Linked DNA regions of Homo sapiens: regions 1, 2, 3 and 4 are each linked to region 5. Evidence: promoter capture Hi-C in 16 types of primary human blood cells and fetal thymus (Javierre and others, 2016). All regions are on one chromosome and are shown on one strand. The core of a region is centred on a gene start or on the middle of the fragment in contact, and the rest is flanking DNA. Distances in the headings are between cores, read along the strand shown.

Region 1 (2,811 bases), core at 161-2,660, 160 kb before region 5:
CACCGCACTCTAGTCAGAAAAAAAAGGAGGGTCAGGGGGAGAAGGGAGAGAGAAGGGAAGCAGAAATGCACAGTGAATTCTAGATCAGTGTCTCTCAAACCCTAATGTGCATGCACATCAACTGGAAATATCATGAAAATGAAGACTCTTAATTCTGTGACCCCCAGAGTAGCTCCTAAGGTTCTGCATTCTAACAAGTTCCCAGTGATGCCCATGCTGCCATCCACAGATGACATTTTGAAGAGCAAGGTTCTAGAGCATTCTCCACAATCTTTAACTCAAGCATTCAACACACTTCCTGATTTGCTTTCACATAACTAACGTAATTAAGGGACTGATAAATGTGGCAGCAGTAAGAATGGAAACGAACAAATATGAAATCACCAGGAAGAACTGACAGGGCTTACTCATAGAAAATACAGTGGCAAAGGAGAAGGTAGAGGCCAAAATGCAAGTTCTGCACCTAGGATATAAAGCATGAGGGTCCTCGTGGAGTCAGAAAACTGCAGGAGATCCATTGAATGCTTTAAATGATAGTGATACACCAAGATGAAAATGTCTGGCAGGCGATTTAGAATATAGGACTAAAGTTCAAACTGGATACATACACACATACACACACACACACACACACACACACACACACACAACCTTCTTTTTTTTTTTTTTTGAGACGGAGTCTCGCTCTGTTGCCCAGGCTGGAGTGCAGTGGCGTGATCTCGGCTCACTGCAAGCTCCACCTCCCAGGTTCATGCCATTCTCCTGCCTCAGCCTCCTGAGTAGCTGGGACTACAGGCGCCCGCCACTTCGCCCAGCTAATTTTTTGTATTTTTAGTAGAGACGGGGTTTCACCATGTTAGCCAGGATGGTCTTGATCTCCTGACCTCGTGATCCGCCCGCCTCGGCCTCCCAAAGTGCTGGGATTACAGGCATGAGCCATCACGCCCAGCCTCACACCTTCTTTTAAGATGAGAGTTGCAGTATCAAGAACAAAAAGAGCAAAAAAGCACAGTACTAAATCTTAGGGAGAAAATGAAAGGCAGTAAAAGTAGAGAATGAGGTCGTTTCAAAGAAAAGCTGTTTTCAAAAACAGGGAAAAAAAAAAGATGTTCAATAGTATCAAATATTCCAAAGAAGTCAAGAGTAATTGGGCTAAGAAAGAACATCTGGATGTGGTAACTGAGGCTGAAAAGTATTAGGTAACCTCAGAGATTAGGCAGAGCAAAAGGGAGGGAGCTCATCCACTCTGAATTCATTATCAGAAGAAGAGGGAGAAAGATAATTCACCCAATCTGAATTCCATTACCAGTTTACACTCTCGCACCATTTCAGTTTCCAACTCCAAACCTTTAACAGTTTCCTGTTTTCCTCTATATTAGATTATAGGAAATATTTATCTCCTGTAAATGTCTACACTCATAACAGCATGTGACACAGAATGTGCCACAATAGGCATCTACTCTTTTTTCATTTGTAATTAGTTCTGTCTCCTAAAGTAGATGGTAAAGTTCTCACTAGGAAGGCTCTTATATAACCTTCTGTATCACCTACAGTAAGGGAATCGACTGTATAATTTTAAAAATCTGCTAGATCTGATGACTCAGTCAAATACTCAAATGTTTTGATTCCTGAACAACTGATCTACTATTTTTAAAAATGGAAATAAATCTGAAAATTATGGCAAAAATCACTATCTTTAATATCAATTTTCCCATTCTTCCTTTAAGTAATAAAGGCTTCTGAATTTTACCTAGAAATGTGGCTGTCCTGATAGGAAGACTACATTTCTCAGCCTCTCCTGTAGAATGTAAACAGAAATGATATATTTTGCCATTAACCACACTGGGCCTGTGTTCCCCTGGCCTCTTCCCCTTTTCCATTTGCTAGGAGACAATAAGGAATGAACCTGCAACCTTGGATCCAATTACAAAAGCCCCATGGTGAAGATGACAGAACTACTCTACCCATACTGGACAGTTCATGTCCAGACCAATGTGAAGGAGAAATAAACTTCTACCCTGTTTAAGCCACTTTTTTTTTTCTTTGAGACAGGGTCTCACTCTATTGCCCAGGCTGGAGTGCAGTGGTGAAGATCTTGGCTCACTGAAATCTCTGCCTCCCAGGCTCAAGTGATCCTCCCACCTCAGCCTCACAAGTAGCTAGAACTACAGGCACATACCACCACGCCCAGCTAATTTTTGTATTTTTTGTAGAGACAGGGTTTCACCATGGTGTCCAGGCTGGTCTCAAACTTCTGGGCTCAAGCATTCCACTTGCCTCAGCCTCTCAAACTGCTGGGATTACAGGTATGAGCCACACTGCACACGGTCAGTGTGAATTACATTTGAATGTTGGTAACAGCAAACAGAACACACAATAGATTTAGCAATCCCTGATTTTAGAGCCCAAATTCTAAGACGGGTTAAAGAATAATAAAAGACTTTTTCATCAAACCTGAGTTTTCTAGATCCAATTTAAATCACCAGTTATCTATTATGTGTTTATTTTGACCGAAGTATTAAACGAAGATGACAAAACACAAATCCTGCCTTCAAGGAGCTTGAACTCTAATAATCATATAATGGTTATAGTAATAAGTACAAATGACACAGGAACATAGAAGAGGTAAAAATTAATGTCAGCCAACAATATTAATGGAGGCTTTGTAGAGACAGTGGCATTTGATGTGATTATTATGTGGGTTGGGCGCAGTGGCTCACGCCTGTAATCCCAGCACTTTGGGAGACTTAGGTGGGCAGATAACTTAAGGCCAGGAATTCAAGACCAGCCTGGCCAACATGGCCAAACTCC
Region 2 (2,700 bases), core at 125-2,624, 140 kb before region 5:
GATGGGTGCAGTGGCTCACACCTATAATCCCAACACTTTGGGAAACTGAGCTAGGAGGATTACTTGTGCCCAGGAGCTTGAAACCAGCCTGGGCAACACAGACCTGTCTCTACAAAAAATTTAAAAATTAACCAGGCACAGTGGCACACACCTGCAGTCGCAGGCTCAGGTGGGAGGATCACTTGAGCAAGGAAGTCAAGGCTACAATGAGCCATGATCGTGCTACTGTATTCTAGCATGGGCAACAGAGCGAGAGCCTGTCTCAAAAGAAAAAAAAAGTATTATAAAGCTATAGTAATCAAAACAATATGGGCATATTGTTTATGGTATGGGCATGAAAATAGACACAGACTAATGAAACAGCATAGAAAGCCAGAAATAAATCCAAGCATATATGGTCAAGTAATTCCTGACAAGCCCGCCAAGAAGACACAATGGCGGAAGTACAGTCTCTTCAACAAATGGGGTTGGGAAAACTAAATATCTAATGCAAAAGAATGAAACTGGACCCTTATACCACACACACACACACACAAAAACCTCCTTAGAAGAAAATATAGGGAAAAGCTCCTTCATACTGGTCTGGACTGATTTTCTAGATATCACAGCGAAAGCTCAAGCCACAAAAGCAAAAATAAACAAGTGGGACTACATCAAACTAAAAAGCTTCTGCAATGCAAAGGAAACAATCAACAAAATGAAAAGGCAGCCTACAGATTGGGGCAAAATATTTGCAAACCATCTCTCTGTTAAGAAATTAATATCTAAATTTTTTTTAAAACTTACTAGCAAAAAACAAAACCAAAAAAACACTTACTTAAAAACGGGCAAAGGACCTGAATAGACATTTTTCCAAAGAAGGCATAAAAATAGCCAATACATATATCAGAAAGTACTCAACATCATTAGTCATCAGATAAATGCAAATCGAAACCACTGTGTAATATCACTTCACACCTGTTAAGAAGGCTATTATCAAGAAGACAAGAGATAACAAGTGTTAGAAAGGTGTAGAGAAAAAGAAACCCTTATATACTATTGGTATGAATGTAAATTGGTACAGCTATTATGGAAAGGAGTATGCAGATTCTTCAAAAATTTAAAAATAAAATTACCATAGGCCAAGCAATTCCTCTGATTTCCCTAAAGGAAATGAAATCAGCACTTCATAGAGACATCTGGACTCCCATGTTCATTGCAGCATTTTTTCCCAATAGTTAAGATGGAAATGACCTAAGTGTTTGTCCATCAACGGATGAATGAACAAAGAAATTATGGTGTATACATACAATGGAATATAATTCGGCCTTGGGGGAAAAAGGGAGAACCCACCACTTGAGACAACAGGGATGAATCTGGGGGACATTATGGTTAGTAAAATAAGCCAGATATAGAAAGAAAAATATTGTATAATCTCACGTATATGTGAAATCTAGGGAGAAAAGTAAACAGAAACAGAGAGTAGAATGATGGTTACCAGGCGCAGGAAAGGAGAGGAAACAGGAAGAGGGAGGTCAAAGGGTACAAATTTACAGCTATGTAAGATTGCTAAGTCTAGAGATATAATGTTCAGCATAAGGACTATAGTTATACACTGCAGTGTTACTACACTGCAATATACTGAAAACTTGCTGAAAGAGTAGGTTTTAGGTACTCCTACCATGCCAAAAATGTTGACTATGGAAAGTGGTGGATATGTTGATTTGTTTGACTGTAGAAATCATTTCACTATATATGTGTATCAAAATGTCATGCTGTACAGCTTAAATACATGCAATAAAAAATAAATTTTAAAGCCTGGCCAACATGTAGACATAGTGAAACCCCATCTCTACTAAAAATATGAAAATTAGCTAGTGTGGTGGCATGCGCCTGTAGTCCCAGCTACTCAGGAGGCTGAGGCAGGAGAATCACTTGAACACAGGAGGTGGAGGTTGCAGTGAGCTAAGATCCCACTACTGCACTCCAGCTTGGGTGACAGAGTGAGACTCTGTCTCAAAAATAAATATAAATAAATAAATAAATGTTTAAAATGTGTTACATTAACAATATTAGGTTTCAGATGTCTATTTTCAAGCTTTTTTAAATGCCAAAATAGTTTGCTTTTGAAAATATGTGTTTAGTTTTCTTTTCGCAAAGGCAACAGTAAAAGACCTTTACTGTTATGTTAATTAACAGATCATGCTCTCAATAGCTTTCAGGCTGACTTTCAACATACATCAATTTTGCCTACCATTCCTTTTAGCTAAAAAAAAAGTTAATGAGGATAATATAAAAGTTTTATTTAGGATTACCAATTTAAGATTAACATCCTTTATTACTGAAATAATAAATCACATTCATGAAAAGAGAAAGAATGGACACAAGTGAATATATTCAGAGATGATGTTTATTTATTTTGTTAAACAAATCAAGCTCAAATGTTCCATGCTTATGTGATCAAAATATGACAAAATCTCATGAATCCAAATTCCAGTACATCATAATTGGAATAAAGTTACTCTAATAGTATAAAACTAACATATAACAAGAGAAACCATTAATGTCAAAAACAGCTGATACATAAAAACTATTGATAAAAATCAAAGAAAAACCCAGAATAAGGAAGGACAAACATATGTGGCAAAATACAAAACAGCTATATTCCTAATCCTAAATTTTATTCTAACATCATTCTAATGACTAATGATTAAATTCCAG
Region 3 (2,700 bases), core at 170-2,669, 200 kb after region 5:
TAGACAGGGGCTGGGAACTCTAAAGAGCTAGGAATTCTGGGTGTAAGGTGATGTGGGGCTTGAATAGAGTGTGAGACAGTGTGAGTGAAAGAAGTGGGCAGATATGAGATATTCGAAAGGAAGGAGAGAGGGGCTTGATTATTAACTGTATGAAAACCAATAGATAATTATTCTGTACTCTTGAAATAAGATCCCTGAAGATGCTAAAGTCTGATCTGTTGATAAGATAACTGACACAAAACCCACCACCTGTTTTTAAAGAGTGATATTGTCACATATAAAATAAATTAATATTTCCAAATCTGTTGAGGGATTTATTGGGAACAGTCAGTTTGCATGGCTACATGTCCACTGACTTGGTCACTGTGGGTTTGGGAATTTAGTGGGAGGGAGCAGAAGTAGAAGGAAAGTGTATCTTACAACTTAACAAAAATTTTAAACTGGTAACTTTCCCTTCCTCCCTCTATCCCTCCTTTTCTTATTTTCTTCCCATCTCTTTAATATAAGGCAGAATATATTTTTCTGTAAATTGTTTTTAAAACCTTTTTTTTCAAATGCTATGTATCTTTTTCTTCTATTTGATGCTCAATTCAAACAAAATCTCTTTCTGTAAAACCTATGCATAATGCTGTTGGACTTCTGTTGAGTTCAGGTTGGTAAGCTCTCTCATACCTCAGTAATTCCAAATCTGAATTTATGATATTGCTAGTGTGCATGGAGCATGAATAACTCTGTCTAGTACTGCATTAAAAACATGTAAGATTTAGAAGATATCAGGCTTAGCATAAATTAAGAATAGGTATTACATGTGGCCTGTAGGGATAAAGCCGAATAAATTTAAGTGTGTGAGAGAAGATTAATATAAGCTCAGTCACTTGGAAATTGCTTTGATTACACTTCTGTCAGAAGGTGGCTAAAAATGGTCCCTTTTGCGGCTTATTACATTTTCTGCAACTTTCAATCATTTCCCCCTTCTGTTTTTTGGTTTCTTCTCCCATTTCACTTTCCTTTGCTCTTGTCTCTGAGCAAAGACACCTTCTAAGATGTATCTCTTCATTTGAGTCCTTAATCTCAACCTTTCACTTCTCTTCATGAGAACAGATCTGTCTATTAGCTCCCCTGTTTCTTGCATTGCCTGTTTCTTTCTTTACTGGTTCCTTCTCAACTATTTATAAGCAAGCTCACACAACTTGTTATTCTCTCATACAATCATTCTCTCTTCTTCCTTTCTCTGTTTAGATATCTCCAGTGTAGCCCATTCTTTGCCTCCTGTGCCTCACTTCCAGATCTATTTTTGTCTTAATCACAATAGGCTAGATTATGTCATAATAACAAAAAACTGCTGAGCTCTCAATGGCTTAATGAAACAGAGACATATCTCCCTTTACATTGCAGTCTGTTGCAGGCTGGCCTGGTAGCTCTCCTACACCACTTCCCTTCCAGCGGCAACCCAGGGGCCAGGCTGCATCCAGCTTAACACTGCCATGTTGGAGTTGAGTGCTTTGTGTTTAATCAGCTAGCCTTAGGAGAGAGTCAACATGCAGAAGTCACACTTGATTTTAACTGCTATACCAGAAGGGACACCTCATCTCCCCTACATTCCATTGGTGAGAACATGGAAATTTGATGAACACTACTGGTTTTGGTCTCAGCCACTATTTCCATTTGTTCAATATCATATTTCTGCTCCTATGGATACAACGATAGAGGCAGGAGGCAGAGAAATTCTAGGCAGAAAGGGCGGGTCCCTGGCAAATGCCCCACCCTCCAGCTGAAAAGCCTGAAACCGCAGCCAGAAGTGAGAACTTACATCCCTGTTTTCCCACTTGAATGTTGCCTTTTCCAAAACCACTCATTGCCTGCCCTGCCCTCCATCCTGGGCTTATAAAAAACCTCATACCCAGCTGACAGAGAGAGGAGAAGCAGCTGGACATCAGAGACTATAGCTGGATGTCGGGGAGAAGCGGCTTGATTCCAGAGGGACAGCTTGACCGTGTAACTTGGGAGAAGAATCTGGTTGGAGACTCCTGGACTTCAGGAGAAGATTACCTTCCAGCTCTGTCCCCTTTTCAGCTCCCCTTCCCACTGACAGCCATGCCCATCGGCAATAAAATTTCCCACATTTACAATCCTTCAATTTGTTCATGTGACCTCATTCCTCCTGGACGCCACAGAAGAACTCAGGAACCACGAGTGCAGATACAAAAGGCTGTCACACTGACCCTTTGCCCTCTCTGGCAAAAGGCAGCTGCCTCACACCAAAAGGTAGAGGGTCCACTGAGCTGTTAACACTTAAGCTGTCTGTGGACAGCAGCACTAAAAGAGCACTGTAACACTCCCTCTGGGACTTCAGGGGTCACAGGTACCCTCCCAGATGTTGCTGTTGGGGCCTGCACAGACTTTGCTCCTGCTCACACCCAAAAGTGCTTGCCCTGGCTCCTGCACCTGCTCACCTGCATGCGCCTTCCCACGAGGGGTGGAGCGCAGTGGCTCCAAGTGAGTGGAATTTGCCACTGCCAGCACTGAAGTGGCTGGCTAGTTCCAGTGCCCGGGCACACAATTTCCCACCTTATTCGCTTGCGTGCTCCCTCCTGCGAGGAGTTGAGAACTGCAGGCTGAGGAAACAAGGCACCCCCTTTGTGAGTCCCATGAAGGGGCCAGGGAAATATCCTGCTTCACTACCTCTTTGAAAGAGTGAAA
Region 4 (2,700 bases), core at 162-2,661, 140 kb after region 5:
ATTTAAAGGATCACCTTAGGTAGGGGGCTATAAAGAAGTAAGGATGTCTATTTATTAACAATGTTTTGTTAAGTTCATTATAAGAATGGTCTTCAAGAAAGACAGAAAGTTGCAAAGGGCCACAAAAACATATTCTCACAGATGAACAGGAAAAGCGCTTTACTTAACAAATTTAATTTTGCTCTTCTATAAGTTATTTTTCAAGTGTAATAATAATGTAGATCCTTTTCCTGCTTTGATCTAGCATAAAAATGAACTATAATAGTAATAAATCTTTTATAAGTAGTCATAAGAGAAAGAGATGCTCTTTAGTATCTTTACAGAAGTGCAGCAGGTAGAGATTAAGTATACATCTATTTTTTCCATTGTCAGAAAACTTGAATTTATTTTTTTAGAGGAAGAATAAAATACTGAGGTTAGTGGCTAAAAGAATGTGTTTGTGAATATTAAGTTATTACATTTCTATCCTCTATTCTTTAGAACACATTTATAGCATTGATTGTTAATACACAACACCGTGTTAAAATTGTATGAGGTAAAACTTAACATGATTTTATTAAGCAAAGTGATTTCACATCATGACTTTTTTGTCTAAAGAGTAACACTGTTTTACTTGGAAAGAACAATTTTACATGTTGATATTATGTTTATATTACACATTAAAATATTTTATAATTTTATAATGATATATTTTATATATAGGTCAGAGGACACTACATATATTTGAAAACTATTTTATAAACAGTAATGGTTTCCAAATAATCATTTTTTTCATGAATACAACTTAAGCAAGCAATTTGTTTTCTAGCTAGTCTTCAAATCTAACTCCAATACTGAATTGCTTTTTACACATTTAGCTTGTCAAAATCATGTTGTTAAAAACAAACCTACAAAATGTAACCTGTAGATTGATTTTAAAAATGTCACCTATATTTTGCTCTTCCTTATATTCAGACCTCTTACAGTGTGACTCCCATTAAGAAGTGGAGTGTAGTTGCCCACCTTTTAAATGTGGGCTGGCCTTACTTATGACTTGCTTTGGCCAGTATCTTGTGGTGGAGGTGTAACAGTGCATCATTTCCAAGCCTAGATGATATGAGGTCTGCTGGCATGGTTTCTCTCTTCTGTGGACCCATGCCTTGTCCATGAGAATAAGCTGCAGGATGAGAGACTGTGAAACAGAACTGAGACTGCCCAGCTGAGGCCACTCTGCATCCAGCTAGTGCCCGGCCAATCTGCCATCTGACTGTGCATTCATGAAGTGAGCCCAGCAAAGATGAGCCAAGCCACCCTAGATCAGTAGAACCGTTGAGATGATCCACAGACTTAGGAGCAAAAATAAATGTTTATTGCCATAATGCCATTGAGTCTTTGTGTTTGTGGTTAGCTGCATTATTGTGACAATAAACAATACAGAAATCGATACCTAGAAGTGGTGTGTGCCATAACAAAAACTTAAAATAAGTGGCATTAATTCTGGGGCCAAACTAACAGTTACAGCTACAAATGGTGGAAAAATAATGAGGAAACTATAGGAGATGAGGAAAATGGTAACCATGTTATGGAGTGATGTAATATGCTATCTTACACTAACCTGGAATAATTCAGAAAATGTATCTAAGAAACTTTTGGACTTAGCAAATTAATTTCCAAGCAGAATACCAAAAACGCCAACTGGTTGCTCCTAGCTAAGTATAAGGTTCTGCAAGATAGAGATGAACTAAAGAAAGAGCTAGTCATTTTATAAGCAGAATCTAGAAGAAATCTAGAGCAACTAGAACTTGCTGGGTTGGAAAATAAAACTGTTTCATCTGCAGTCTCCTGAAAATAAAACAAAGCCCTTGAACAAAGATCAACTCAAGGATGTAGCTGTAGCTTCCTTTCTTAAGATCACTAAAAGAATTAAGATGTAAGCAGACGTTCTCAGCATGACAAAAGGATTTTTAGAAAGTTGATGGGCATGATCCCACAGAATTCTAATCCCCAAGTAGCAGAGATTGGTAGATATGCTATCTAGAGAGCAAGCATGTCTCAAAAACAACTGTGGCTGTGGGCTTTAAAGCATGGAATAAACTTATCAGCCATATGGACAGTCCACAAAGTTTTTTAAGTGAATTGTACTGGCCAAAAAGCCACCAGCCTGACTCGTGACCTCGCACTGTGACTTGCTTGGCCAATGGAATGCAGTGGAAGTAACAGTGTGTCAATTGAAGGAGACTTGCATCTTCTGCTCTCTTTCTTTTTTTGTTTTTTTTTTTAGATAGAGTCTCACTCTGTTACCCAGGCTGGAGTGCAGTGGCACCGTGTCGGCTCACTGAAACCTACGTCTCCTGGGTTCAAGCAATTCTTCTGCCTCAGCCTCCCGAGTAGCTGGGATTACAGGCGTCCACCACCACACCTGGGTAATTTTTATATTTTTAGTAGAGATGGGGCTTCACCATGTTGGCCAGGCTGGTCTCGAACTCCTGAACTCTGGTGATCTGCCCGCCTTGGCCTCCCAAAGTGCTGGGATTACAGGCGTGAGCCACCGCACCCGGCCTTCTGCTCTCTATCTCAGACTCTTGTCTCCACCATGAGAACAAGTCCAGGCTGGCCTGCTAAGAAATTAGAGACCATATAGAGCAGACCACAGCACAGGCACAGCTGTTTTTATTTTTTCAACAAGATGGCAAGGTCAAGGCAAAAAAAAAAAATAGAGAA
Region 5 (2,700 bases), core at 142-2,641:
TACATGTGTGCTACGTGTGTGTGTGTGTATACATATATATATATGGAATAATTCATAATTGTTTAAAACTAGTTAAAGGGGGATGTTGAATGAACCCTACAAAATTTTAACGTTATTACCTTGAGGTTTGGATAATGTAGGACTTTCACTTTCTGTATTATTCATTTCTGGACTATTTAAAACTTATACAATTAAGTAAAATGTTTGTATTTGGGTAAAATGATTGCACAAAGGAAAACAAATTGCATAGAAATCTGGCACCATTTGAGGGCAATAATTACTGTTTTCAACTTACATAACTTCTCCAGGTGTCATATATTAAAATTATGTTTTGCGGACCGGGCGCGGTGGCTCACGCCTGTAATCCCAGCACTTTGGGAGGCCGAGGCGAGCGGATCACAAGGTCAGGAGATCGAGACCATCCTGGCTAACACGGTGAAACCCCGTCTCTACTAAAAATACAAAAAATTAGTCAGGCACGGTGGCGGGCGCCTGTAGTCCCAGCTACTCAGGAGGCTGAGGCAGGAGAATGGCGTGAACCTGGGAGGCAGAGCTTGCAGTGAGCCGAGATTGCGCCACTGCACTCCAGCCTGAGGGACAGAGCGAGACTCCATCTCAAAATAAATAAACAAATAAATAAATAAATAAATAAAATTATGTTTTGCATAGTCTGGGCTGCTAACTGTATTATCTTGAGAAAAATTTCCAACAACAATGGGTTTAAAAATGTTGGTTTTACTGAAAGCATGAATGCTTTTTCTGTACTGACAATTCCTGGCTTCATCTAATTTACGTTATACTTATTTGCCTTTGGCTCACTTCTGCACTTTTCCCATTTTTAAAAGATAAACTGTAAACTGCCACAAATCCTTTTCTGCTGGAGCCTGGACCAGGAGCGCGGATTCCTGTAAATAATGATGTAAATAAATAAGTAAATCAATGACTCCCATTCCCAAAGGGCCTTCTTTTCCATTTTTCTCTGGGGCATCGAAGTGCGGTGTGCCCTGCGAGCTCCCACAGGAACAACCCGGAACGTTTGTGGTCCTGTTGGGCCACCGCGTGCTCGGTAGGAAGCGGACGTCCCGGGGGCTGAAAGGGCCTTAGCGATTTTCTCGCTCTAGTCCCACCCGAGACCCGGGGCGCTGCAGGAACCTGCCCAGGCCACCGGGTGGGCGGCTGGGCGGGAGAAGCTGGGCAGCCCCTGGCAACACCGAACGGCCAGGACACACGCGGCTTCCTCCGCGGGAGGCGCTTCTCTCTGCGCCTGGGCCTTCACGACCCCTCCCGCGACCGTGGCCCCGAGGCCAGGTGCTTACTTGCCGCTCTCCACGCCGTGGCCGAGACCCAGCTAAGCAACCAGGGAAGCCTCGATGGGGTCATGGCGCCGACTCCCCGAGCCTCCGCGCAGGCGCAAAGCAGTAGTGGGAGGAGCAGGGGGCATGATCCGGAGCCTCCCTGCAGAGGGCGGGGCCTCCGTGGCCGGCTTTAGAAAAGGAGTTAGAGGCATCCCTGGGCTCTTTGGCCAAGAGAGACCCAGGCTACCTTGAGCCCGGTGTTAAAACGCCAAATCGTGGCTGCAGTTAGAAGAGGGAATAATTCCGTTCCGTTCATGCTTGTCAGTCTGAGCCGAAATGGCCCGTGGAAGATCCCTTTTATAGTTTACAAAGATTGAGCACCTTTTACTCTCTCACTCATGTAAAATGCTTCTTTTACCTAATTCTCCCTGTTTTGTGTTTTAAATCTTTGTTCAGTCAGCTCCTAGTTCGTCCATTCTGACCGACTAACCAGATGATATGAAAGGCGACATTTTTGAATGAGGTGCAAAGCAAGAAAAGGCTCTCCATCCAGGCCAGGATCCAGTGCAATGAGCTCTGCCCCTTAACCCTTACATCCCACCAGCTCTGATAGCGTTGAGTGGATGTGGCAGACCTGGATGCTTTGTGCAACTCGTGGAAATATTTACAGAATCATAGTGAAGGCCCCCAGAATTCTGGAATTTTGTCTTTTCTTTTAAAGAAAAGTTTCTGGCTAGCTATTGCGCCTTGGTAGTGTCTGACCATGTGACATCAAGTGGTTATACGATCGAAGCTTCTTATCATGAACTGAGAATTATCTGGTTCTCCTAGATAAGGAGATCCTTTTACGAAGAGAAAGTGGGCCGGGCAAGGTGGCTCACTCCTGTAATCCGAACACTTTGGGAGGCCGAGGCGGGTAGATTACCTGAGGTCAGGAGTTCGAGACCAGCCTGGCCAACACTCTACTAAAAATACAAAAATTAGCCGGGCGAGGTGGCACATTCCTGTAATCCCAGCTACTTGGGAGGCTGAGGTAGAAGAATCGCTTGAACTCGGGAGGCGGAGATTGCAGTGAGCAGAGATCACGCCACTGCACGCCAGCCTTGGAGACAGAGCAAAACTCCATCTCAAAAACAGAAAAAGAAAAAAGAGAGAAAGTGGGATACACAGAACTGGGCCAAAGTCAAAACGGAAACAGTTTTCATTTGTAGGGAGCTCACAGTCCTAATATCATGCTTTTGACCTTTAGCTTATATCTACAGTTTAATAATGAATTCCTTGTGACTAGCTGACTGAGGAAAAAATTCAAAGTCGGATGATGGCTTTGCTCAATAAACTGGCCCAGCTGGCAACTGACTGCTTTTCATATTTAGAGCCCCACTTAACAGAGGCCCTGAAGGAACAG

Evidence for each region. Contacts are between HindIII fragments. The CHiCAGO score rates a contact against its expected background, and 5 or more counts as called.
Region 1: a contact is called between a fragment that was not itself captured here and the fragment with the promoter of SDHAF4 in region 5, in 1 of 17 cell types (total CD8 T cells). The highest score is 5.2, in total CD8 T cells.
Region 2: a fragment that was not itself captured here is called in contact with the fragment with the promoter of SDHAF4 in region 5 in 6 of 17 cell types (non-activated CD4 T cells, activated CD4 T cells, total CD4 T cells and 3 more); the score reaches 6.5 in non-activated CD4 T cells.
Region 3: a contact is called between a fragment that was not itself captured here and the fragment with the promoter of SDHAF4 in region 5, in 1 of 17 cell types (non-activated CD4 T cells). The highest score is 5.5, in non-activated CD4 T cells.
Region 4: a fragment that was not itself captured here is called in contact with the fragment with the promoter of SDHAF4 in region 5 in 1 of 17 cell types (naive CD8 T cells); the score reaches 5.1 in naive CD8 T cells.

Annotation. Positions count from the first base shown.
Region 1 is chr6:70,727,298-70,730,108 of GRCh38, reverse strand. The region is part of intron 1 of SMAP1 (small ArfGAP 1); the gene reads right to left. Among named protein-coding and RNA genes, the nearest start is that of SMAP1, 61 kb to the right of the region's middle. The HindIII fragment of the contact is 3,512 bases long and covers 1-2,811 here.
Region 2 is chr6:70,706,921-70,709,620 of GRCh38, reverse strand. The region is part of intron 1 of SMAP1 (small ArfGAP 1); the gene reads right to left. Among named protein-coding and RNA genes, the nearest start is that of SMAP1, 40 kb to the right of the region's middle. The HindIII fragment of the contact is 1,411 bases long and covers 669-2,079 here.
Region 3 is chr6:70,363,841-70,366,540 of GRCh38, reverse strand. All of the region lies in intron 1 of LOC105377848 (a long non-coding RNA gene), which reads left to right. Among named protein-coding and RNA genes, the nearest start is that of LINC01610, 29 kb to the left of the region's middle. The HindIII fragment of the contact is 3,427 bases long and covers 1-2,700 here.
Region 4 is chr6:70,429,894-70,432,593 of GRCh38, reverse strand. The region is part of intron 4 of FAM135A (family with sequence similarity 135 member A); the gene reads right to left. Among named protein-coding and RNA genes, the nearest start is that of FAM135A-AS1, 17 kb to the right of the region's middle. The HindIII fragment of the contact is 4,816 bases long and covers 1-2,700 here.
Region 5 is chr6:70,565,621-70,568,320 of GRCh38, reverse strand. SDHAF4 (succinate dehydrogenase complex assembly factor 4) reads right to left here and starts at 1,391. Exons shown (of 3, transcript NM_145267.3): 1 at 1,317-1,391. The coding sequence starts at 1,380. RefSeq lists a silencer at 1,044-1,103. The HindIII fragment of the contact is 5,796 bases long and covers 1-2,090 here.